4 separate regions of the Homo sapiens genome follow, and regions 2, 3 and 4 are each linked to region 1. The links are contacts of gene promoters, found by promoter capture Hi-C in blood cells and fetal thymus (Javierre and others, 2016). All regions are on one chromosome and are shown on one strand. The core of a region is centred on a gene start or on the middle of the fragment in contact, and the rest is flanking DNA. Distances in the headings are between cores, read along the strand shown.

The links. Contacts are between HindIII fragments. The CHiCAGO score rates a contact against its expected background, and 5 or more counts as called.
Region 2: a contact is called between a fragment that was not itself captured here and the fragment with the promoter of TACR1 in region 1, in 3 of 17 cell types (megakaryocytes, fetal thymus and naive B cells). The highest score is 7.2, in megakaryocytes.
Region 3: a fragment that was not itself captured here is called in contact with the fragment with the promoter of TACR1 in region 1 in 2 of 17 cell types (naive B cells and total B cells); the score reaches 5.7 in naive B cells.
Region 4: a fragment that was not itself captured here is called in contact with the fragment with the promoter of TACR1 in region 1 in 5 of 17 cell types (total B cells, megakaryocytes, erythroblasts and 2 more); the score reaches 8.9 in total B cells.

What each region holds. Positions count from the first base shown.
Region 1 is chr2:75,195,190-75,201,982 of GRCh38, forward strand. TACR1 (tachykinin receptor 1) reads right to left here and starts at 4,331. Exons shown (of 5, transcript NM_001058.4): 1 at 3,357-4,331. The coding sequence starts at 3,745. All of the region lies in intron 2 of TACR1-AS1 (TACR1 antisense RNA 1), which reads left to right. The HindIII fragment of the contact is 965 bases long and covers 3,971-4,935 here.
Region 2 is chr2:75,619,067-75,625,859 of GRCh38, forward strand. LOC124906026 (a long non-coding RNA gene) reads left to right here. Exons shown (of 3, transcript XR_007087115.1): 3 at 1-4,940. Among named protein-coding and RNA genes, the nearest start is that of MRPL19, 24 kb to the right of the region's middle. The HindIII fragment of the contact is 6,046 bases long and covers 340-6,385 here.
Region 3 is chr2:75,558,746-75,565,538 of GRCh38, forward strand. EVA1A (eva-1 homolog A, regulator of programmed cell death) reads right to left here and starts at 2,194. Exons shown (of 4, transcript NM_001135032.2): 1 at 1,935-2,194. RefSeq lists a silencer at 2,144-2,203. The HindIII fragment of the contact is 342 bases long and covers 2,962-3,303 here.
Region 4 is chr2:75,478,561-75,485,353 of GRCh38, forward strand. No RefSeq gene overlaps it. Among named protein-coding and RNA genes, the nearest start is that of EVA1A-AS, 42 kb to the right of the region's middle. The HindIII fragment of the contact is 1,950 bases long and covers 1,689-3,638 here.

The DNA.
Region 1 (6,793 bases), core at 3,081-5,580:
TCCCTGGTATTTGTTGGAGTTTAGATAGAGGTAAACCTGATCTTATTTAGCTACATTTGTCTCTGAAACATTTTTAAATTCTAGGTAACTGCTGCCTTCAAAAAATAAAACTCTTTCTAATGGAGATATTTCTTCCCTCCCCTCCTCTCCTATCCCCTTCCCACCTCCCACTTTTCTTCCCTCTTCCCTCCTTCTCCTACCTTCCCTTCCTTTCCCCCCATCCCTTTTTTTCCTTCCCTGACCCCACCCCACCTTTCCTGTAGAAAGACTACAGGAAACATTTAAATTAGTACTGCAATCTGCAACTGAAGTTTTTCTCCGCATATATCTTGATTCTAATAGGAAATTTGACAAAGTTTACCAAGATAGTTTGACTCAACAATTCCTTTAAAAATCCTTTAAAATGAGAAGATATAGCTTTTTAAAAATTCATTTTATTTGATGTAGTAATTCTACTTATTGGGATCTATCTTAAGAAAATAATCAAGAAGGCAAAACAAAATTATCATATATAAATATTCCTTAGATTATTAATTATAATAGCAAAAATCTAGAAATCACCTAAATACACAACAGTAGAGAAATGACTACGTAAATAATAATAGCATATTCACATAATAGAATAGTATGAAGCCATTAAGATTATGTTTCTGAAAACTTTTGAATAACACAGGAAGGTGTTATTAAAGTCTTTCATTAATACCAATGGAAAAATATAGGCTACAAAATTATATAGAATCTAACCTCAATTATGTAGTATAATAGTCATAAAAGAGAAATTCAAAGGTTAGCAGGTGTTGCTTCTTGTCGGTTAGGTAAGGGGGATTGGATTTTTGTGCTCTTCATATTTCCCAAGTCTTCTGCAGTGAACAGGTTTAATTTTACAATCAGGAAAGCCACATTGCTGTTATTTTTAAAGACTTGATTCAAAGGTTGTCTGTTAAAAATTCAAGGAATATACAAACAGCTGATTTAATATTTCCTCTAAGTCTGCATTTCCATGCTGGAGAAAAGGGAGATAACTTACAGGGAGAGGACTTAAAGCCCCCTTTCTTTCCAATACATTCTTGGGAGAGAATGGATGACCACACATGCAGGAAATATATTCATTGGAAGGCCTGAGGGGGTGAGTTTATAGTGTGCTCACCAGGCTGAGCAAGAAAAAATAGAAGGAGCACTTGGCAGACATGGAGACAGAGACCTGAAGTCTCATCCCTAATTCTACCTTGAACTCTAATCTTAGGAATGCCATTGGTAACCTCCCTGGGCTGTATCTGCATGTTGGAAACATGGTGACATTCCCTGTCGCTGTCATTTCCTAAAGCTCTGGCATCCGAGACCTTTTGGTCTCACTGAGCAGGTATCACAGAGGGTCGGGGCTCTGCGGTGGTTTACCTAGAGAAAAACAACAACGGAGCTGAAATCTGGCTCCCTGCCCAATCCACTGTGCGGACTCTGACTCTCATCCCCACCCCTAACCTTCTAAGTTCCAGAGGAAAGATCAGGGCTGCAGAACATGTTTCTGTGTAAGCCAAAAGAGAGAGCTGTCTGCTGGTGCTCCATCAGCTACTGAATGCTCCAGCTCACACTGACTGACAGGTCTTCCTAGAGCTTGTGCAAAGCCCCAGTGCAGAAAAAGCAAACAAACAAACAAAACCCCCCAAAAAACTTGCCCTCTAATTTAGGGGGCATCAAGAGAGTGTTTGTAAGGCTGAACTGGCATCAGGTTTCACTACCCTGATATTCACTTATATATCATGCTATCGACTTTTTTAAGTTTAAGGAAGCTGTTATGAGATTAAAGGAGCATGTCAATGCAGAAAGATTTACAGGTGTACCTCACTTTCAGCAAACTGAATATCTGAAAACCAGTGTAGTACAAAAGATAAATTTGCAAAATAATTCATTTCACTCCCACTTTGAGTAATTGGTTTACCATCTACATTTAAAATACAAACTGATTTTCCACAATTTGTTTTACATAAAACATAGTAAGCACATAGGAGCTGCATATAGAGAGATGTACAGGGAACTAACAAATCAGTATTTGGACACCACTGCAAAGGATGGAAATGAAGATTTCCCTGATTTTAAAAGTGTTCATTGACTACAGGAGCTAAAAAAGACTTCTAATAATTTGCAAGTTATAAACAATCTTTATGCAAAGAGGGTTAGTAGTTTGGAATTTTTTTTGAAGTTTTCTCCTAGCTCCTTCTTTGGGTTTCTCACATTCAGTTATCTCAGGAAGGACATCAAAAGACTCCATTTTAAAATCACAGTGGTAGGTGTTTTAAGCATACTTTCACATCCCAGGTAAACATTTAACACCTGTGCACACATAGACATACACATTGGAGACCTAAGATACTCACAAAGGAGACAATACCAACAGAGCTGTGCTCCAATAATCAATTTTCCATCATGCTACCTGAAGAGCCATTCATTCCAGAATACCATCCCCAGTGTTTGAAATGCCAACCTTTTCACTTTCAGTCAGCTTTGGGAACCCTAACCTGTTGGTTGCCGGAACAGAAGAGCTCTCAAATGCCTTTGCCAAGCATGTTTCTCTGTGGATAGAGACAGGCTAAATACATACATTTTACATTGCAGGAGAAATTTAGAACACCTCTTGGGTAAGCTTCCTGGATCCCTATCCGTGGAGTTTCTTAAGGATAGCATAACTGTCTCTCATTCCTGAATGAGAATTCCTAGCATTACAGAGTAAACTGCATTAGAATTCTGAGTATCTTATGATACTGATGAAATGCTCTTTCACATCCAAAACAAACAAACAAACAAACACAAACCAACGAACCAACCAACCAAACAACAACAACAACTACAACAACAAACTGGAGAGTTGCAGTGGGAGCAGAAAGTCCCAGAATCCTCTAGGTGTACTTAAAACAGGAAGGCAACAAGAGGCTGTCTGACAGAAAAACAGGCCTGGAGGAATTTACAAAGCCCCTTCCAGGGTCTAGTCCTTTGACCAAACCCTAGGTATTGTTTGCAGCCTGCAAGGGTAAAGGGGAGAAGGAATATATGGAAAGGAGCAAAGCAGAAGTTGAAAGTGTCAGGAAGATGAGTGGAGAAGAGATGAAGAAAGGGGAGTTAAATGAAGAAAAGGGGGATGTGTGTTGAAAGGAAGAGAGAGAGTGATGGGTAAAAAAGAGGAAAAAAAGTTGAAATACATAAGATGAAGTTCCCCATCAACAAATGACTCAGTTGATCAGTAAAAAAACCCTCAGAGTGGCCAATCTTCCACTTGACCCATACCCCACCCAGTTCCAAACCTCACAGCAATGCCGTGGTCCTCTATGAGCACTTTCTCGCCTTTTCACAAAGGCTAATCTCACCTATCAAAGGCCACAGCCGTCATGGAGTAGATACTGGCGAAGACAGCGGCGATGGGAAAGAAGTTGTGGAACTTGCAGTAGAACAGGCCGTAGTACCATTCGTTGTGGACAGCATAGGTGAAGTTCACCACTGTATTGAATGCAGCCATGGAGGCCTCCGCGAAGGCCAGGTTCACCAGAAAATAGTTCGTCACTGTCCTCATTCTTTTGTGGGCTAAGATGATCCACATCACTACCACGTTGCCCACCACAGAGGTCACCACAATGACCGTGTAGGCAGCTGCCCAAAGGACAATTTGCCAGGCTGGTTGCACGAACTGATTGGGTTCCGAGGTGTTAGTGGAGATGTTTGGGGAGAGGTCTGAGTCCACCGGGAGGACGTTATCCATTTCGAAGCTAGGCGGTAAAGCCCTACTATCTGTACACAACCCCCCTCTGCAGCAGAGTCCTGTGGCTGGCGCCTGGGGCTCAGGGTCCTTCTAAAGCCAGACAGGAGGGTGGAAGGCTTTTTCTGGGCAGCACTCTTTTTGAAAGCTGAACTGGCGCTCAGAATATAAACGCTTCTGGATGCACTGCCCGCCTGCCCGCGGTGGCTCTGAATTCCTCCACTTTCAAGCTTCAGGAGACGTTTGAGTTCAGAAGTCTGGAGACAGCATCTCTCTTGCGGTAAACTGAAAAAGGGAAAGAAATTCCACCGGTCACAGTTCTAGGAAGCAAGAGATCCCCCGCATTTATGCACCTGCTGCTGCCTGCAACTCCTATTTCTCCTTCCTCCGCAGGGAAAGGCAAAGCCCTGTGCTGCGTGAGGACTTAGGAGCGAAGTGGGGGCCCATTGCAGCGCGACCTGTAAAAGTTCTGAGCCTATGGCCAGGATTCTGGAGCTTCGTATCCAGCTGGAGATTTTTCCTTCTCTTTTGCTGCCGCTGCCGCCGCCTGCAGTTTCGCGGGCACCTCTCGGTTCGGGTTGCTCAGCTCGCGAGTTAGCTGCGCACGAGGCTTTTATAACCCCCTGCAGAGACGTCACTGGGAAGGGGCAGTACCTGGGCTGCGTACTCGCCAGTCCCGGTGCGCAGCGCGGCAGCTGCGCCAGCTGTTGACAACTGTCTCATTCCACCGCCGCAGCTACCACGCCTTTTGCTGCTTGCTACTTGCCGTGGGAGTCTGCGAGCCGGGAGCCCCACGCACTCCGCGAGGGGGCAGTAGGTGGCTTGGAAGTAACTGACACAGATGCGGTCCGCAGCTGGAATCGTCGTTGCACGAGGGGTGCTGGGAGGAAGGAAGGATTTGGGAAACAGCTGGAGTGGAGGACAATCAACTTCCAGGGAATGAAGCCCAGAGCCCTGAGACAGCTCTGCAGAGGCGGCTTGCCTGTGGCAATGGGAAACGGTCATGTGTGGGGGCGATGTGCCAGCGCCGCGCTCCGGGCCGCGCTCCAGCTACCGAGAAGCCAGAGGCGACGACTCCCTGGTCCAGGTGTCCCGAAAACAACTTTCCTGAGGCTGTGTTTAGGAAACACCCCCACAAAATATCTAGCTCAGTTACCTGGCTAGCTGATTCACCTGGGAAGTGACAGTCTCTAAGCTTTGAGGACACTTTCCTCAGCCACCCTGGTGACTTGGCCCCTCGTTCCAGGAGAAGCTCCATTTGAGCCCTCCACCTGACCCCTCTGGATGAGCCTCTGCTCAATCACTGGGGACAGGGCTGAGCTCCCTGCGAATCTTGGTGAGCGCAGGAGCCACACTCATAGGCAGCTTGTCGCTCAGACGCGCGGCTCTGGGCTCTCCGCCAGCAATCACTGCGGCGCTGCGTTTGCCTCCCGGGGACCTGGCAGCCTCCGCCTCCGCGCCTGCCAAGCCTGCAGGCCAGAGCCGGGCTCGGGGTGGCATCGGTGGTCCTTCTCCCTGTTCCCCTTCCAGGTTTGCATAGGGGCTGGAGGACAGGTCAGCCAGCCTTCTCTGCCCGCCTCCATCCTGCCCTGCCGTCTTCTGACTTTGAGGCCTCGTATCCCAGTCCAAGACCATTTCAAACGGTAGAACTGGTGCCAGACACTTGGAGGAGGCAGGGCAAAGACTCGCCAGTCCGTATAAACCCTTTTGGAGAAGCCAAGATGGGATGAGCTCCGCAGCACGTTCCCGCCAGACTGCTGCAGGCAGAGTTCCGCGGAAAACTGAACCCCGGGAGTCCTCAGGGGCCCATCTACCCCGGTGCACCGCCCCCTCCTTTCACTGCGGGGACTCGGAGCTGTGGGACTGGAGCGCGCACCGGCAGACTTGCGCGCAGGTTGGAGTTGGCGCACACCCGCGCCAGCCGGGGAGCGGCGTTTACGCACTGGTACCGCGAGCGCTCAAAGCATCTCTCGGGAAGTGCTTTAAGGCTGGGAAATTTACTATACACTTATGCCGGGCAAAAATTGGATCCCACGCCGGGGAGGAGAATCTGCTGTTTCACTCTGTATTTTTTCGGAGCCTGGGATTTTAGCGTATATAGGAACCGCACATTGCTTTGCCAGGTTCTCCTAGGCACCCGTAAACACACTGCATAGAAAACTCTAGAGATGCTTTCAAGAGAACAGCGTCCCTTTATTTAGAGCGGCTGCACAAGAGGTCTTCTTTGTGGAAGGGAATGCCTCCTCCACCTTGGATCTCTGCTTGAGGCTTCCACCATCTCAAAGAGCTGACAGAGAGAGGGAGGAAAAGGGAGAGGGAAGGGGATGCGGAGGGTGGGGGAGGGGGGAGGGGAAACTTCTCTATCTTTAATTTTCCTTCCAAGCTGTTTAAAGTTATCTTTTCTTTTTTCTCCCTGTCCATTAGAGCCAGGCTGACGTTTTCAAAAGGAACTTTATTCAGTGGTTAAGGGAGAAAAAGAAAGCTAATCGAATAAAATCTAAATATGTAATAAGAGCTAAATATAAAATAAATATGAAATAGCTAAAAAGTAAACATTAATCCATTTATCCTCCATTAGTACAGCAAGTTGATATTTTGAAGCAGGTACTGTGCTGGGCACTGGGGCTGGGGGGTGAACAAGCACTTACAGTATGGAGGAAGACAAACAAGAAGCAATGAACCATACAAAATGGGCGGTATTATGATGACCAAAGGTACTAAGCCCTGAGTGAGGAGAGAAGAGGGAGGCCACCTAACCTAAACAATGAGGGGTATCCGTACAGATGGAAGAAAATCTCATCCATGAAGAAGCCTGAAGAATGAGTTAGGATGGGAAGAGGTTGAGGGTGGAAAAAAGGCGAATATTTCAGGCTGAAGTTTTATAAATCAAACCTTGTCACTCTGCTTAAAGTCCCATAATGACTGCCCACCTATGAGCCTGCAGGTCAGAGCGGGGCCCTGGGTGGCATCAGGGGTTCTTCTCCCTGCTCACCTTCCAGGTTTGCATAGGGACTGGAGCGCAGGTCAGCCCGCCTTCTCTCCCTGCCTCCA
Region 2 (6,793 bases), core at 2,113-4,612, 420 kb after region 1:
AGCCCATGAGCCAAACCCAGCCCATCACCTATTTGTACACAGCCCATGTGTATTAACCTCATCTTTTCTATATTCTGAGGCTTTGACATCTGGAGCCTTGGTAACACTGGAGATTGCCTCTCCTAGGATTAGCTAACTCCTAAAGATGAACTCACCCATGAGTGTGATTTTCAAATACAAACCAACCAAATCCAGAGCCCACAACCCCAATCATCTCCTTTATTGAGCTTTCACACTCCAGGCATTTATCCACCTGCCCTAATTACCCCAGGACCAGGTATCAGACAACCAGGCATAGTTTTTATCCCCAGAGCCCACTGTAATTATTCAAACCAGCCAAGCTTAAACCTGCATATCTAGCTTACTCCATTCCTTTCCACAAAAATCACAATAAAGGCTCTAGCAATCTTTCCCTCCCCCTTTGCCTCCTGACCAGCCCCAATGCTTCCAACACACAGGCCCTGTGTGGGCCCCCAAGGTGTGACATGCCTCCTTCTCTTGGGAGCTGCGAGTAACAAGTCACAAACTATGTTTTCTTTCTTCTTTTTTGTTTGTTTGTTTTGAGACAGAGTCTCACTCTGTTGCCCAGGCCAGAGTGCAGTGGTGCGATCTTGGCTCACTGCAACCTCCATCTCCCAGGTTCAAGTGATTCTCTTAGTTCAGCCTCCTGAGTAACTGGGACTACAGGTGTGCACCACCACACCCAGCTACTTTTGTATTTTTAGTAGAAACAGGGTTTCACCATGTTGGCCAGGCTGCTCTGAAACTCCTGACCCCAAATGATCCACCCACCTTGGCCTCCCAAAGGGCTGGGATTACTGGGATGAGCCACTGCGCCTGGTCGACAAACTGTTTTTGAAGGCAATCATCTCTCAATCTGTTGGCCTTCCTGGAGCTCAAATTTTCTATTAATACACTATCTTTTAAAACATCATGAGCTAAGAATGGCTTTTACATTCATACATGCTTGAAACAAATCAAAAGACTGTTTCCTGACACATGAAAATTATGTAAAATTCAAATTTTATTGGAACCCAGCCATTGTCATTCCATTACACATCATCTGTGGCTGCGTTTGTGCTATGATGGTAGAGTTGCAGAGTCGTGACAGGAAACTTATAGTCTATAAAACCTAAAATATTTACTATCTTTACAGAAATAGTTTGCTGACTCCTGCCTTAATGTATAGACATGTTTGCTATTTTATTGGTTTACTTAAGCTATAAACTTGTGTAACCCATTGCTTTCTATGTATAGTATAGATCTGTTTATAATCTGAAAACTTCAGAATCTCTAGGTCTAGGTTTCTTCCTATAGTCTATCCCAAATTACTGAGCCTCCAGTGTTTTATTGATTTTTTAAATGATCCTTAGTAAAAATATTTTACATTGTGACTCAAGACACTCACATAAATAATAGAAACAAATTTCATGAAGCATTACTCATTCTTAATGTGTGAATCACTTTGACAGTTTCCGTTCTCTTCTACTCCAGTTTTTTAAAGTACCAGTCAAAAATCTACCAATTTCACACCCCACTTATGGGTCAATGCACACATGTTAATAAACATCATGAATCTAACAGATTCAAATCTAAACAACACAAAATGTTTCTCTTCTACACTGTCTACCAAGGAAGACGAGTACAGAAACAGCAATAAAGTTTAGATGATATGAGTTTAAAAGAAGTCTTTAGAAGCAAAGAGGGATAGAGCTATTTTTTTTTCATGGCATTGTTGGGTAGTTTCATCAAGAAAGATCTTGAAAGATGGTCAGGAAATCCTGGTAGAGAAGAAAAAATTGGGGGAGGGCACAACTCGCCCCATGTCAGAATGACATGCTCTGTAACAGAAACTCCACAGGTTAAGAACAAGGTCTTAAGAAATTTTTTATTTCTAGTCCCTAGTGTAATGTTTTACACAAAGTAGTTGCTCAGTAATTGTTTGTTATGTGTCCACTGAGTAATTGCTCCAGGACCTATTTGAGCCCAACTCTACCCACCTCTAAATATGTAAATTTGAGTTCTTATATCCTATTTTTTCCCACTACTTTTCACTCCTATTGGGTCATTTTAATTAATGCAACTGACTTTTTTTGAAGGTATACTGTGGTTAATGTTTGAAACCAAGATCCCAAATTTGTTTCTACTGCTCTGGCTGCCATGTTTGATTCTTAAGAAATTCATCAGAAGGGACCCAGCATTCAAACCCACACTGTGTTGCTGGTAGGCTTCCACTGTGAATCTCTTTGTTTGGTCTATCAGCCTCAAGGATCTTCTGTATGTGAGCTTAAGACCTCGAGAGGCCAGGCCAGGGCTGCCTGCTCTACACTTCCTTTTTCTGAATGCACCCGGGCCCACTCGCCTGTCCCTCTTACTACAGAGAAGCCAGGAAGAAACAAATGGATTTCTGCCTCTTTACACTCACATTCCAAAGGTTCTGCTTCTACATGATGCCATGTGAAGTCCAGTGCCCCTCCAAGACTCCCAAGATTCTTCATGGTCCCTTTGGCTCTGAGTCCTAGCTTTTCATGAACTCGTGATATCACTTGTGTTTGTTTCCTGTGATGGGTTGTCTCTTTTCTTTACCCCATTTCCAGGATTCGTCATTCACCCCAACCCAAGCCAATCCACAAGGCTTTTCCCCAGAATTTGGGATAGTGGAGATGTATGTCACCATAAGTCTAGCTGTTCTTTTCGTCCTAAATATTATCTGCTTCTCTGTTTTCTAGGTCAGGCATGTCACTCTCTTCCGGTATGCCTTAAAAATCAATAGCTTGCTTTATTAAGCAGAAAATAGCAGAGTTCGCCTTCCTTGTAGTTCTGGGCCTCTCTGCCTGTACCAAACTCATCCATTCTGGACAAAATAAATTGTTCGTAATGGGTTTCTCCATTTCAGCAGTGTACTAAGGGGGTGATGGAGGATGGGAGTGGTCTGCCCTGGGTGCAATAAGGGAGCGCCTGGGTGTAAATAATTTAAAAGCAATAATAAACTCAACTGAATATTCATCTGCTTTCTATTATCACCATGTGCCAGCAATTCTAACAATCTCAGCAATAAAATACTCCTCCCCACTGGAACCACTCCCACTGTTACCCTTGCCCAGTAGGACCCACTCCCACTGGTACCCTTGCCCACTGTGCTCCACTTTGGTAGGCACTGCTCCAGTTAGGAACACAAAACATGCAGGCACCTTGAAATGTCCATTGTTCTCATCCGCTCTGCCAGGGAGATTTCATTTTTCAAAGATAGAAAACTTCTTCCTTCCTGGAATTCTTTTTTCCATTGGCTTCTATGCCACTGCTCTCTCCTGGTTTTTCTCCACTGCCTCTACCTGTATTTCCTTAGTCTCCTTCCAAAGTTCCCCCTTCTCTGTGATAGACTCCTTCCCTGAACTAGTCAGGAAGTAGGCATGGTTAGTTGATTCTAAGGAGGTACTTACATGAGCAACCCTTGCCCAAACTTTGCCATGCAAATGGAGCCGAAGGAAAAATAGAGAAGCATCATGTTCTGGAGAGGGTTCCAAGGCATAGCAAGAGAAGTGTTTCCAAAATGGGGACTTGAATTGAGCAAGAAGAGACAGAGTGAGGGAGGCAAGGCTAGTCATCTGCTATGTGATGAAGGCAGCTCTCCTGAGGTCTGCTGCAAAAACATTCTATGCTAGATTCATGTGTAGGATTTCAGGAATGAGACAAAGGATACAGCCAAACAGTCTTTGGCAGAATTATATTACTCCACAGCTCAGCAGAAGGTTTGAATCTAGATAATTGAGGTGATGGTGGGAGTTTCTAGGTCGGAAAGGCAAAGAACTAGGAAAAACACTGGGAGTAGGTGACCAACCACAGCAGCCTGTGTGTTCCTCTCATCTTATATCCCCCAAATGAGAGCTGCTCGTCAGTAGTGCCCTATCTCACATATGGCCAGCTAGGGTGAAGCAAAAAGCAATCCACAAGCTGCCTAATGGCCCAATATGTATCAAGGTCTTTATCTAGAAGTAAGTGTCTAAAGAGTATCTCAGCACTGTGGACATGGCCAGAGGGCAGGGTGCAACTTCAACACCTTGGAGAGTGGCCACAGGTGTTGCTGATGTCTGGGAGGGAAGAGAAACAAGGAAATGCAGCCTCTTCTATCACATGCACTTGTAAGGCAGAAAAAATCTAAACACCCACACTATGGGCACTAGCAAGGAAAGGAGTCATTCTCTCAGATCGGGAGGGAGAACTCTCTGATCTTTCACTACCTTCCATGAGGTTTATCATTCGGAGACACGAAGCATCAGTCACTCTGACCCCACATGCAGCAGGCACCTGAGGCCTTCCCGAAGTGGGTCCTCAGCACCCACTTTATTCCACTTCACTTCCACTGTGGGAGGTTGAGTTCCATGCAGTATCTAGCTACATCCACATATCCGTGCCTCCCTTCTCTGCTTTCCCATTCACGTCTCCATTCACCAAAGGCTGGCTCTGCACTGGCATCTGACATCCCCACATGGACTGCTGTAATCAGATAGGAAGCTCCAGTCAACTGAAGCATCTCCAAGAATCTGAGTGGCTACCAGGCTGCAGGAAGGAATCAACTCATCTCTTTGGGTGCCCTACCAAGACAGACAAGAAGAACACTACAAAAAAAAAAAAAAAAAGAAAATCATATGTGATGAGGGTACTTTATTTATATATTGGAAGAATTGGTGTAAAATTTTGAGAATGAGGACTCCTTAAGAAGACATAAAATCCAGAAGTTATAAATGATTAGATTGGTATATTATACTATCATTTTTTAATGTTTATGATAAAAGTTACCAGAAAGAAAATGCAAATGATAGCGCAGACAAAATACTTTTAATACATGTGATACACAGGTTAGTATACCTAATATACAAAGAATGCCTACAAATTTATTTTAAAACAGACTAAAAGAAAAATGGGCAAAGGAGTTGAACAGGCCATTGATAAAATGAAGAAATGCAGATAACTAACAAACCTACAATAGGAAACTCAATCTCACTAGTAGGGAGATGTAAATTAACACAAAAATGAAATAGTTTTCACATCTAAGATTGGCAAATATTTAAATAATTTTAGTAAAAAAGATTTCTATTTTTACTGATTTAAATTGATACATAATAGATGTACATGTTTTCAGGGTGCTTGTGATAATTTGATATGTTCATACAATCAGCAGTGTAACTGGGATATCTATCACGTCAAACATTTATCTTTTTTTCATGCTAGGAACATTTGAATTGTTCTCTTTTAGCTATTTTGAAATGTACAATAGATTAATATTAACTATATATGGTCACCCTATTGATCTATTGAACACAGGTCTTATTTCTTCTAGTTGCATATTTGTAACAAAAATTTAAAAGAGCTAACATGCAGAACTGACAAAGAGGAAGGAAATAAAAACGCCTATGATTGTTGGTGGTGAGTGAATCCCTACACTTTTGAAAGATACTTGGACATTTATTTATTTATTTATTTTGAGATGAGTGTCACTCTGTTGCCCAGACTGGAGTGCAGTGGCGTGATTTTGGCTCACTGCAACCTCTGCCTCCCGGGTTCAAGTGATTCTCCTGCCTCAGCCTCCCGAGTATCTGGGACTACTGGTGCACGCCACTATGCCCAGCTAATTTTTTATTATTATTATTTTTAGTAGAGACAGGGTTTCACCATGTTGGCCAGGCTGATCTCAAACTCCTGACCTCAGGTGATCCACCCTCCTTGGCCTCCGAAAGTGTTGGGATTACAGGTGGGAGCCACCGCCTCCAGTCGTTACTTGGACAATTTCTAATAAAATCACAAATCCACATACCTATCGGACTAGAAATCTCATTTTGAGGATCTATTCTACAGATAGAAAACAAGCAGTGTTTAGATGCAAAACAAACAATGATTTTAATGGCAAAAGGAGGTAAAATTGTCAAAGGGAAATTTTCCACTTACACTTGCCCCAGAAGATGACAACATAAAATTAGATATTTCATTCCAACTGATTGAGAAAGAACCATGAAATTGAGTGACCCTAAGAAGACAGACCTAACAGAACTACTGGAAGATCTTTGCTGACCAGTGAACAATGGAAGAGACACATGGACTCATTCAACCCTTAATTAGCATCCTAGCCTGAACTCTCCCTTTCCTAGCACTCAAACCCTCCTAACTTTTCCCCTCTGCAAAGTTCTCAGTGGATGTATTCACTGACGTGTACTCCTTGCCAGGCACTTTAATAAACGTTTTATTTTTTTCAATGCTCTTGTGGTTTTTGTCTTATTATTTGGCCAGAAAAATTAAACCACATGAGTTATGATTTGGACATGCTAAATTGTATTGCCCACAGGATGTGTCCTGGAATGAGGCCAGCAGGCAGTTTCAGGTCTGTACCCAAAGCTTGGCTTAGGTGTTTGGGAAGAAGTAGATCAAGAAGCCACCAGCAAAGAGGTGTTAGTTGAAGCCAAAGATAGGAATAGGATACCAACTAAGCGAAATGTGTTGCTGAGAAGATAAGAAGGCTTGGGTGAAAGCACTGGAAGATTTTCTAAAAGATGCCAAAGCATAAAGGATGAGTGAATATATGATCATTTAATTGAAGCGTTCTATGTTTATTCTTTACTTGCAGCCAACCTCCAATGCCCAGTACCTCCTGTTGCTTATAGTTTTAGACTGTTTTGTCTCTTTACACATAGTAATTTTTTTTCCAGACTTCATTCAGCAAACCAGGGAGCCATCTGGCCACCTCATGATGGAAAAAGCATAAATGTTCTGGGAGGTTCCCTATAAATTATCATTATTGTGC
Region 3 (6,793 bases), core at 1,883-4,382, 360 kb after region 1:
GACGAAGTGGCATAAGGTGAGGCCAGTTGTGAAGAGCCATGTGTACAAGGTCGGGGGTTACATTTTATTCTGTAAAGACAGTGATTTTCAAACTTTAACATGCAGAGGAATTACCTTCAGTGCTTGTAAAACACCTGCAGATTCCCAATTCCCATCCCTTCTGCTAGCAATAGGGGACCAACAAGGGTGCTAAGGCAATATAGCCGCATGACCTGCTGTGGATTTGGCAACAGAATTCTGGCACTGGAATGGAGGGAAAGACTGGGACAGAGACTGGTATAATCAGCCAAACTAGAGCAGATAAAAGGATGAGAGCTGGAAATAATGGCACTCTTCATGAAGTGAAACATTAAACCTGGGCTTCTCAACCTCAGCACTATTAACATTTTAGGCTAGATAATTCTTAAATCTTGGAAGCGGAGTGGGGGAGGGGGGAGATGTCTTGTGCAATACAGGATGTGGCAGCATCCCTGGCCTCTACCCACCAGATGAATAAGATCCTCTTCTACTTACATGATGACAGCCAAATATGTCTCCAGACATTGCTGGATGTCACTTGGGAAGTAAAATCAAAATTCCGTTGAAAACCATTACTTTAAGCCCTAGCATCCCTGCTTTACAGATGAGGAAATCCAGCTACAGAAAGGTACAGGAAGGCCCCAGCCAGGATTCAAGCTGGTGGTCTCACTCCAGGGCCCGGGCTCTTAGCCACTGCGCTTGACTGCCTTTATGGAAAGGAGATTCAAGCCAGCCTTCTGAACAGTATTACACATTTCGTGACAGACTGGATGACAAGAAGGGGATGAATTAATAAGATTCAAAGGTGAAACCTCAGTGCTTGCCGCTGAACTCAGAGGACAGTAGATAATAAGTAGTTTGGGTTTGAATATAATCAAGGTATATTAGGTCAAAACGGAAAAAGCCTGGTCCCTTGTACTATGAGAAAGGAGGTGGGGGGGGGGCGGGGGAGTTGGGGGGACGGTTCTTGCTCAGACTAAAAAGAAGAATCTTCTGTAGGGCTGGACTTGAAGTGTATGTGTGGTATAGACCAGCTAGGACCCAAATCCTGGCTGGGCCCTTTCCTAGCTAGCTGTGTGGCCCCATCTCATTTTGCCCGTTTGTAAAATAGGGGTAAGAGTCCCTACACACAGGCTTGTTATGAGAACTCAGGCAGTTAATAAGAACAACATGGCAAGCCAGCACGATGTGGTTGGCACTCCTCTCCTTCCAGGACATCCTCATTTCCTCCATGTCCCAACGCGCTCCGTACTGCGTGCCAACACCTCCCCTTACCCCTCAATAGTAGGGGTGGGGACCCCCACGCAGACCTCCCAGATAGAGCAGCGTGGACTGTCTGCGCGCCCCTCTCCAAAAGCAAAGCGTCCCACTGGGACTTTAGGGGGCGCCAACAGCCTTTCACTCCCTGATGCACTCGGCTTTCGGGGTCCTGGGGGTCGCCAAATGCGCGCGGCGAGTTGGCTGCCTCCGAAACAAACCAGGTAAATAGTCCACGGTGCAGCACGTACATTTCTGGCAGGTCCGCCCCGCGCAGGCTTGGGATAGAAGCCAGTCAGGCTCAGCCCAGCTCCCAGAGGCACAGGAGAGAAGCGCTAGATTTGGGAACGACCTGCTTTCCGAAGCTGGGCTGCAGAGGCAGGGAGTTGAGAGTTGTTCTATCCAGAAAGAAGCAGGGGGGGCGAGAGAAGAAACAGGAAAGTGGGAGGAAGAGGAGGCAAAAAAGAAAGCGCTGGGAAGCAGAGTTCCCTGTGGGACCCAGCCTACAACACCTGGGCAGGGACTTGGGAACAAAGCAGCTGCTTCAGGTCAGAAGTGCTCTGGGTGTTTCCGAAAAGAGGGCGCTTCGGAGAAGCCGGAGCCCGCTGGGGATGCCGGGCGCCCCCAGAGTTCAGGGAGCGCTCTCGGGCACCTCTTACCTTTGCTGGGGCCCCGGCGCGCACTTCCGGGGACTGCGCTTGGGGCGCGCGGGGCCGAGCAGGGGGACCCGGAGCTGATCACTGAGGGGCGGACACGACAAAGCGCTGCCCGGGTCTTGGGCCGGCACCAGTACCTCGGAAAGGAATCCCGGCGGAGGGGCCGCCGGGGTCAGGGCTGGCCTGGGGATGTGGGGTCCCGGCCTGGGTGCTCACGGACGGCGGCGCCAAGCCCCGCAGAAGCTGCAGGAGCCCGAGTCAGTGGGAGGAAAAGGTTGTCTCATTTCCTTCGATCTCCCCCCTCCTCCACCCGCTTGGCTCCGGACCTGCCCTCCCTCTCCCCCGCCCCCTTCTGCAAGCCAGCGGCCCATGTGGGCGCCCGCAAGACGCGAAACCTGAACGGCTGCGGCGTGCGGCACCTCCCTCCGCGCCAAGTTAGTTCACGCTCCCAACTCCTGCCTGCCTCCCCGCGCTGCCGACTGTCCGCAGGACCGGGGAGGTTCCCCATCGGCAGTCCCCAACCTATCCCGGTCCTCCAGGCTTTCCCCCTGCTGGGACGAGCCCAGATTTGAAAGCAGACCTCCAAGCCCCTGCCAGCATCCATCCTCTCATTCCTGTCCCGTCGCCTGCTTTGAGCCTGTATTCAGCTACTCAACTCAGACAGGAAATAACCACTTACTTTGTTAAATTTGATCAACTTTTTTTTTTTTTTTTTTCTGAGTGGGAAGTTAAAGCCTGATGCATAATCTCGAAGGAATGTTCATTTTTATCGGAAGAAATGCAGCTGAGGCCTCTGTTTGGCCTTTCTCTTTCAGGGTTGGGGTTTTGTTTGTTAAAATCAACAAGTATTTTATTGAGAGTGATGGGCGCTCAGCTGGGGGCTGGAAACGCAGAAACAACTAGAGGGACACCCTGTTCCTATACAATCGTCATAGGGGAAGAGTGCAGGGAGAGAACAGGTCCCGGGTTGCGGTGGTCTCTTAAGAGATGGGTCACGGAGTGAAAGAGCCTTCTACAGAATCAAAATAAAAGCTTGGACAGAGGGAAGACGGAATAAGAAAGCCTTCAGGAGGCGGTCTAGCAAAGAGCACAGCCAGGGCAGTGAGTGATGGTGGGGAACAGGGAGGAAAATATTGTGCCAGTCCGTTAGGAAAGGAGAGGAGCTCCTAGAAGCAGTGTGATGGAACTGACAAGATCTGATGACCAAGGGCTTGAAAGGGAGAAGATGAGGAGAGGATGAAGGAGAGAGGTGACTCCCAGGCCTCTGGCTAGAGTAGCCAGTGACCACGTGGATGACTAGAATCCCAGAGTGCCTTCTGGAGCTGCTACTCCAAGTGTGGTCCAGAGACTGGCAGTACTAACACCACATGGAAGCTTTATGGAAATGAAAACCCTCGGGCCGCACTTGAACCACTGGATTAGTATCTGCAGCTTAACAAGATCCCTAGATGATTCAAATGTGCATTAGAATTTGGAAGCACTGGCTGCTAGACCACTGACTGTATATTATGCTGTATATTGGACTGATTGTATATTAGACTATGGAGCCCTGGGTGTCTATTAGAAACACCTGGGGAGCTTTAAAAACCAATAGGTGGCCCCAGCTCCACCCTCACAAATATTTCTGTAATTGTCTGGGGTGGAGCTCCCACATCAGTTTTTTTTCAGATGCTCTCAAGATGATCTCATACAGCCAGAGATGAGAGCCACTGTTTCAGACTTACTCAAGAGCTACTTCATTTTACCTTGAAATGCTGCTCTTCAAAAGGAAAACAACACCTATCTGTAGATGAAAACGTAAAGACAGGTTATTCCACTCTCATGCAGAGGCAACTGGTCTGGTAGAAAGGGCCCTTGTTTCCTAAACTAATCAGGGAACAAGGTTCTAGCCTCAGACAGCACTAAATTACTCTCTGAACTTGAGAAAGTACTCCCCTCTCCGACCTCTGTTTCCTTATCTGTAAAAAGAATACATACTTGCCTGACTCCAAATTCCACACTCTGGCATGCAAGGGCCATCATCAGAGCTCCCCCTAACTCTCCAGCTTTCCAGCAGGCATATGGAGAGGCTGTGATGAGAAGCGGGGTTTCCTGATGTAATACTACGTGTGTTAGCCAAGGGCACAGCCCTGTACGAATATCAGAGATCAGAGGTTTGTGTGCCGAGTACAGGAGCACACATACAATCAGTGCTCAGTAAATGTGTGTTGAATGAACTAATTAGTAAAGAAATAAATAGATAGGGCACAGGTGCCAATAGGTGAGCACAGACTTTCTATAGATGGGCCCTAATCTTGAGCCTACTTATTTGCCCCCAGGCTGGAGAAAGGACACCTGGAAGCACTCTGACCCAATCTACCTTTGGATTTAAAAATACTACCACTACTAAGAACTGCTAATATGTGTTGGTACTTAGTACGTGCCAGTCACTGGGCTGTGTCTCACTTATAAACATTGCCTCATTTTATTAAAATGAAGCAGATACTGTTGAACCCCCTACACTTCAACAGATTTCAGGAATCACAGGTATGGAGAGACTAGAGCTGCCATCTAGATTATCTACTTCTGGTTGTGCAGCAGGACAGAAGTGCATCCGTTGCTAGCCTGAGAGCCCCTCTTGGGGTTCCTACGGGTCATTCTCCAGAACATGCATCCCTGCATGAAGGCCAACATTGAGATAAATGACTACTTAAGGATCCTACAGAGGTAGATTCTACCAGGAGCTATGTCAGAGGACCTATGGGTTATGGCTGCACCTTGGAAAGGAACCCCTCAAAGCTACTAACTTCATGCTTGCATGCACACGTGTGTTCATGTGTGTGTGTATGCTTTTAATGAGAGCCTCATAGATACCGAACTCTACGCCAATCCTTTCCACATACATTTCTTTTAATCAACACAGCATCTTGATTGGCTAAGTATTCTTGTTCTGTTATTTTATAAATAAGAAAACTGGAACAACATGAAGATCTGTTCATCTCTGTAGCCCGTTTCTTAAGTATACATTCTATTGCATTGTTGTTCCTGTCTACCACCTCTGCCCACCCCCATTCTATGGAGGCAAGAATCTTCACTTCAAGTCCCATTCGCTTGTTATGGTTACAAGTCATCAAAACTCTCTGTGCCTCATTTTCCTACCCACAAAATAAGTTGTCTTTGATTGCTCTTTTTTGAAGGTACCGTGTGTGGCTTGACACTCTAGGCTGAGAGGAGATGAGGAGAGATAACCCACAGACTGTTAAGAGAAACTGAACACTGGGGTGATTTATTCTAAGATGAGAGGGCCCATTGCTTCATTAATGGCAAAATTATTATAAAAGAGGGAAATAGCTATTTTCCATTTCTAGGGAGACATATTTATGGAACAGTGCCAAATATCAATTAAGACCTTAGGTCAGATGTGAGAAAGGGGCATTAAGCCTCTGCTAGACTAGGGCAAATTCTCAATGGCTACCTTTTGAAGCTCCCTATCCTGGTCTCATAGGGTCTGCTGGATAGACCTTCAGGGTGGAGGTGGTCAGGGAACACAGGAGAGGTTGGAACGCACAGGCTGATACAGGAAGGGCAGAGGAGTAGGGAGTCCATGTGCACAGGCACAGCGTACAGCTCCAGTTCTAACCAGAGATGAAGAATTAGAGGAAGAAAAGGGTTCATCCCAGGAAACTAGGATCTGCAGCTCAGGATCTCAAGTAACCACTTCATGCCCGGTTCTCGGCCCAAGGCTGATAGCTGGGGCTCTCAGTGTGAGCAGCCTTGCAGATGTGGGCAGGTAATGCCAGCAGAGTGCACAGGGCTCCCATGGCGCTGGTGGTCAGAGCAGGGAACCACAATCCGCCCACACTGATGTTGTGGCCAACAGCACATCCAGTTCATGGAAAAAGTCTAGAAGCCAGGGCCCCTTCAGCTAATACAAAGATGTGATAGTTTTAATTCTCAGTGAGTGGAGGCTGTGGCATTCCCTCAGTGGCGCAAATGTCGTGATGACAAGATTTGATAGGAGGATCGTGTTCCACCCATGACACCACTGAGCACCACCGATCAGCTACTGTTAGACAAGACTCTAGCCACATTCCTATTGCTTCTGCTTCCAAAACTCCATCTGCATTTGCATAGCAGTAATTTGATGATTTTACACAAGCTCATTGTGGCAAATATTTACTAGTTTTTGCTTCAAACAGAAATACAACCTCAGACTTTGATTACCCCCATTTTACTGATGAACAAACTAAGGCACAACACCCAAAGGCAGCCAAAAACAAAAACAAACTGAGTCACCAGCTGAGTGAAGGTGAAACCCTTAGACTCCTATGGTTTACCCAAAAATGATGAGCTGCCAAAGGCACCACAAGATGCTTGCAGTGAGAATATGTCCCGATATGTCCTCACCCAAAATCATCTGGCACTATGTAACCCGTGTGTCTATCAATGCAGTTCAGCTTAACTGTCATTTCCTGGAGACTGCTCGCCCTTCACAGAGAACTGTCCTAGACACCATAGGCAACCTTGCTGCACGATACACTCAGCTCTCAGCTGGGGCATGTTCTGAAATCACAAGCTGGGCTCCAGATCAGACCAATTGAATCAGAATCTCTATGAGTAGGGCTTTTTTTTAAACCTTTCCAGATAATTACAATGTGCTGTTAGGATTGAAAGCCACTTCTATAGGAAATGCAGAGACAAATTCCAAACAGTAAGGAGCTCAGTCTAGTAATAGATGATCTTCAAACGTCACCAGGAAAAGGAGAACATCAAAACTGCTCTCCTGTGTGCGGAGTATTAAGACAATGTCAAACAGACAAAAATCCCTGGACTTTTCTCTGCCGTAAGTGACTGAAATCATCCTCATGTGGTAGGATGTGGGG
Region 4 (6,793 bases), core at 1,414-3,913, 280 kb after region 1:
TGAGTCTGTTTTCACACTGCTGATAAAGACATACCCAAGACTGGGTAATTTACAAAGAAAAAGAGGTTTCATGGACTCACACTTCCATGTGGCTGGGGAGGCCTTGTAATCATGGTGAAAGGTGAAAGGCACTTCTTACATGGTGGCAGCAAGAGAGAATGAGAGCCAAGTGAAAGGGGAAAGCCCTTATAAAATTATCAGATCTTGTGATACTTATTCACTACCATGAGAACAGTATGGGGGGAAACTGCCCCCAAGATTCAATTATCTCCCACCGGGTCCCTTTCACAACAAGTGGGAATTATGGGAGCTAGAATTCCAGATGAGATTTGGGTGGGGAGACAGCCAAACCATATCATCTCCTCTTCTCTTGTCAAAAGGAAGATGTTTTTGTCCTTTTGTGATGATTACTTTGTATGTCTGAGTATATAACTCACCTCTTTAGTGGTTTATGGCCCTCTCACAGTCATGGGGCTGTGCAGCTACCTAGCTTTATTAGTCCTAACTACCAGCTTTAAATTGTGGATGCTGTCATGCCATAGGCATATTCTTATATGAATATATAAGAATATATACATGCCTGAAGCGTGTTGTAAGTAGCATGTTTTCCTTAACAAAATCCATTTTCATAAATAAAAACACTCTACACATACATATCCCAATTTTCTTTTTATCCTTTCATTTATTGAGTACCTGTTGGGTGTCAGACACAGAGTATTAAAGATGAATAAGACATAGTGTCTTACTGAGTCTTGTATAAATGCTAATGGAGAATAAAATAAAATATTATATACAGGGGAAACTCATATCTTATTCTCTTATAATTATTTTTAAGATACATGACTCTACAAATCACAACCTTAGTGATCACCAATGACCTACAGTTGCCAATCCAGTGGGAATCTTTATTCTACTTGATTTCTACTTAGCCCTGAGGACCATTTCCTGCTTTACTCCAGTTGCCTTTCTCAGTTCCTGTTGTTATGTATTATCTTGCTCTTCGTTCTCTTCCATCTTTCTCTGCATTCTTTCTCTTGTGGATCTCAGTCACTCTCAGATATTTAATATTACTTTCATGCAGCTGAGTCTCAAATATGTATTCCTGCTTACAACTTCTCTTCTGAGTTATAGTCCACTGGAATATAATTCTGGGACCTGAAATTCTATATGTTCAAGTCAAACACATGATCACTGTAGTTACTAGCGTCCTTCTGATTGCAAATGATGGAAATGCAACTTAAACTGGCTTATATGGGAAAAAAGAGTAATAAATTTTCCTGTGCAGCCAAAAGACTCCTGAGCTACATCCAGGAACTCAAACAGTATTATCAGAAATTGAGTCTGCTCTCCTCACCTCTTCTCTCACTCCCTCCCACCATCCTCTCTCTCTCTCTCACGTGTGTGTGTGTGTGTGTGTGTGTGTGTGTGTGTGTGTGTGTGTATGTGCTCACTGACTTTCTAGGTCAGGGTCTCCATGTTATAGCTCCCATAAGCCCCAGGCTTTCCTTCACTGGCTTAGTAAACCTACAGAAAGGGAGAGAACTTGTCTTTCCCGATAGTTTCATAAAAAATCCTACAATTGAATTTCACTGGGCTAACCCAGTACACTGGCCAACCTGTAACCAATGGCATGACTCAAATGTGGAAATATGCTCTATTAAAGTATAAGATTTGGGGAGTTATTGATAAGCTTCAATCACATAAACTCAGAGCAGGAAGGCTTAGTTATCTATAGAAAAAAATGAGTAAAAGGGAAAAGTATGCTAAGTAGGCAAAAGCAACAGATGTCAGCTATAACCCACTGCCCCCAAAAAACCCTCATCAACTCCATTATTTCTATTAAACAAGATAATGCGTGTAAAACATTATGTAAATGTAACAGTACTCCTCTATGTTATTAATTCTACTGGTATAATTTTTTTTTTCACTCTTATTGCCCAGGCTGGAGTGCAATGGTGCAATCTTGGCTCACTGCAACCTCTGCCTCCCAGGTTCAAGCATTTCTCCTGCCTCAGCCTCCTGAGTGGCTGGGATTACAGGCGCCCGCCACCACGCCCAGCTAATTTTTTGTATTTTTAGTAGAGACAGGGTTTCACCATGTTGGCCAGGCTGGTCTTGAACTCCTGACCTCAGGTGACCCACCTACCTTGGCCTCCCAAAGTTCTGGGATTACAGGCATGAGCCACCGTGCCTGGCCTCTACTGGTATAATTTTAATAATATTGAAAGTTTAAATAAAACAGGCTTGAACTCTTGGAGCCATCTTTGGCTGCACCCTCCTCTCTCATCGACATTTAATCAGTTGTCAGAGCTTCTTGATTCTGCAACCAAACTATTTCAGTATCGGTAAATCCCTTATGACCAGACTCTACTCTTTCCAATCCAGATTAACTTTTTTTGAAGCACAGTGCTGATCATATTTTGGCTCATAAACCTTCCATACTCTCCACTGCCTAAGGACAAATAGCCAATCATATCAGCCAGTTAGTTCTCAAAGTCCAGGAACTAGATCCAACTTAGCTTGCCAGATGTGCTCTCCACCATTCCACTTAGCATGCCCTCTGCCTGTAGCCAACAGGAACTACTCACTGTCTGTAAATTACTCCATCTCTGAAACTGTCTCTGGCTGTTTCCTAGAGATGAAATGCATCACTCCCCACTTTTCTGTCAGCATTCTCATCACATTTTGGACCCACTTTTAGGATCCCTGTGGATATTTCAGAAAGGTATAGTGACATAGTAATTTAAGATTATTTCAAATGGACCAAAATCCTGGATCAAACAGACATTTTCTGTTAATCTAGGATGGTAGATTCTGGTCTTGGAAGATTCTTTTATATATGAGAATATGTTATTTACCCACAAAGGGCTTTGGTAAACAATAAATAATCTAGTGTGCTGGTAACTCGAATGTACTGATAAGGCCGCCTTTCTGAGAAAAGAAGGCAAATATGGTGAGTACCTGCTGTTTGCCATCTGCTGTTTGCCAACTGACACAGGAAGTGTAAGTGTTCAGCTTTGAGGAAAGACGGCTAACGGATACATGTTTACTTTTAATGTGTATTTATTTGGCTTTCTTTGTGTGCTGAGTCTTCATTCTCACTAAAACTGAATACTTCAGGGAAATGGAGGCAGCTCCATGGCTGTGTTCTCCAGCTGCCAGTTTTGTCTTTATTCTCGGAAATCCTAACACTTCATATCTTTCAGTCTCATTCGTACCAATTTATGCTTTGCTAAATAGCCATTAAGCACTTTTTTATCTTCTCTGGCTGACTGAGGCAGGGGACATAATCCTTTTGATGTTCTGAACATAGTAATTATTCAGTAAACATTTGTTGAAGTGCGAGTAGGAACTCCAGAATCTATGTCAAGGGATCTTGGTGGGTTAAAAAAAAAAGTGTGCTTTACAAACATTCTACCCTTTCACAGATTTTTTTCATATTAAATAATAGAAATTTTCAGACATAACCAAGAGTTAGTTGTATTTATTTGTTCATTTTTCACCAAAAGAAGGCATTTTATTCTCTTTTGGCAACTTCAATTAGCTTTGCAGAAAAGAACTCAAAATAATACAATTAGTATTACCACCTTGTACAGCAATTGCAACAACACCAAAATTTCCTCTGCATTTCAAAAAAAAGCTTTTGGATGTGAAAACTTAACATTCCTTCATTCATGTAGCACATGTTTACTGAGCACATGCTAAGGTATGGCATTGTGCTAGGAATATCAAGACAAAATTTATTGACCTCATAAAACTTAGAATCTAGTTGTGATGACAAATAAGAAATTACCTGACTAAATATCCTTTAACAGCATTAACAGCATTAACAGCAGAGAAATTCAATTAATAAACTGCCTGCCTCTTTCATTTGCAGGCTATCAAGATTGATTCAGGTTGATTCCCAGGGTTCTGTTTTATTTCCACCCAGGAAACACCAGCATTCTTGAATCCTTTCAGCATTAGGCAAAGGAGCAGATGTGGGCATTCTGCATCTCAAGGAGGTCTTTAGCAACACCTGCTGCCTTGCTGGTCCCTAAAGAAGTCTTGTCTGTGGTCCCCATCACCTAAAGGGAGCTGGTGATTGTGGTTGAAGACATCCTGGGTAAAGGAACATTGTGGATCATTGCACATACATGTAAGTTGGTTCAGAAAGTTCAGAAACTACTCAGGGATTTGGAGAGAACTTCCAAAGCTAGCTTTGGATTTTCACATTTTTATGTTCATATTGTTCACAAATAATTTTTAACTGTGAGCCCTGTACCATTATGGACTCAAATTTCTGAGAAAGCCTCAGGAATTCTATGTACTGGTGTCTCTTTTAAGGCTAGGAACACAAGCAGAAACTCACTCCAAATTTGAATTTTAATATGTGCTCTGCACTCAATTTAAATGCTTTAAGGAGGCACTTCCTGAAGTTTGCTCTATAGCTCCTCAGTTCCAAGGGGTGGTCACTGGTGAATATAATTTGAGAAATGTCTTAAGACATACTGGTTTGTTTAATGAACAGTTTCTGGAAAAAGGACATAATTTTGAACTCTAAATGTTGTATCTGCCACAAATAACTGGCTGCCAAGAATGCCACTGTGTGCAAATTACAGAGATTATAATAAGCAGATGGATTCTAGGTTCCGGGGAGGAAAATTCATCTGAATTTAAGAGGTAAGTGGAGCTAAAGATTCTAATTGGACAGAAAGTCACATGGTTTATATGGCTGACATAAAAACACACCCTGATAATTTTTAGGGCTCTCTTCTTTCTGCTCTTCTGCCAATGTGGATATCATTTAGTTTCATCTAGACACCTGGGCAGAGGCCACATAGAACCTGAAGCTAGCTAACGCAACCATATCTGATCTCCCACATCTTGCAATCATCTTTGTCCCCTTGACTTTTAGCCATATTCTACTTTGCAGTTCTTCTCTTTACCACTGACCTTACAACTGGGCTCTTCCTTTTCAAAGTGCTCTCTAAAACTAGAATTCTATGATTATCTGTATGTTCTACACTCTGAACTTCCTCTTACAACTGTACCTCTCCTCTTACCCAGCTGGCCTATGGGAATTCATTATACATCATGAGACTCTGTGGGGAACCCTGTGATTCTTCTACAACCCGGGGCGTGTAGGGCTGAAAAAGTTGTTTGTTATCTATTGCTGCTGCAATAAATTACCATAAATCTAGTGGCCCAAAACAACATCAATGTGTTGTCTTACAGTTCTGGAGGCCGGGGTTTGAAATGAATCTTATGGGGCTTAAAGAAAGATGTCCTCAGGGCTGTGTTATGTCTGGAAACACTATGGGATAATCCTATTTCTTGCCTTTTTCAGAGGCTGCTTGTATTCCTTGGCTCACGGCTGCGTTACTCCAACCTCTGCTTCTGCTGTCACAGCTCCTTCTCTGACTGTGACCCTGACCCTCCCCCGCATAAAGACTCGTGATTACATTAGGTCTAACCAGATAACTCAGGATCATCTTCACATCTCAAGATACTTAACTCAATTATATTTGTAAAGTCCCTTTTGCCATATAAGGTAACACATTCACAAGCTCCAGAGGTTAGGATGTGGACAGATGTCGGGGGTTATTCAGCAAACTCTACTACAGTTGGGGAAGGGGAGATTAGGTTCTGCGTTGGTCTTTTTCCCTATTGATATCTCCAGATCATTTCTCTACAATAGGCATCAGCAAACTTTTTCCATAAAGGGTCATATGGTAAATAATTTTAGACTTTGTGGTCCAAGAGACAAAATCTAGGGTATAATATAGGTGCTTGCATAACTGCTTAAAATGTAACTATTTAAAAATGGAAAAACCATTCTTGGCTTGCAAGTGGTACACAAACGTGTGGTGGTGGGATTTGGCTCATGGCTATAGTTTGCCGAATTCTGCTCTGCAATCTTTTGTAAACTACTTCCTTAGAAGCTCATGCCATTCAGTTAAATCTCTTATGTTTTATCTTGCCTTTGTCACTTATCTATATCCTGGTCACCCTTCAATACACATTGAGGATGAATTACCCACTGGAAGACATATCCAAGAACGTAGAAACAGTCTCTTGAGTTCCAGATAAGCAAAAGTCTAATCCTACAGAGTAACAGTAACATCATAAAGAGAAAATGTATTTTTGTTCATGTAGCGCCTTTCTATAAAAAGTTCCTGATTCAGAAATGCACTTTTCTCATTTGAGAAATTCACCTGGAAATACCCAGGTATTGCCCTAAATGGCCACAGTTTTTCTATTCCAAAGTATCTGCCAGATTTAGTGTTGTAACAGGGTATAAGGCATCAGAAACTTTCCATAAAAAGACTAGAGACTGGCTAAAAACAAATTTTCAGGACTATAGCGGAAAATTTTTAGTTAATCATCTCATCTTTTTTGATGATGTGGAGCTAGTTGCATGATTCTGGTTCTGAATGGAGTCCCTAATATGGGCCCTGGCCTCAGGCCCAGATAAACCTCTCTTCTGAGAGCCTCAGAGGTTCCTTGTGTTGTTCAAATGACAGCTGGAAGTGAAGGTTATTTTTAATTTCACTGTCACCACCAGTAGGCTCATCTCTACCTACCACTGAAAGAAAGAAAATGAAAAGGTAATAAATGGTTAGGAAAAGAGACTTTCCTTTTTTTCTTCTTTTATTTTATTTTTTAAATTTAATTTTTTTTTTCTTTTTGAGACAGCGTCTTGCTCTGTTGCATACGCTGGAGTACAGTAGTGTGATCATAACTTACTACAGCCTCAAACTCCTGGGCTCAAGTAATCCTCCCATCTCAGCCTCCTGAGTTGCTAGGACTG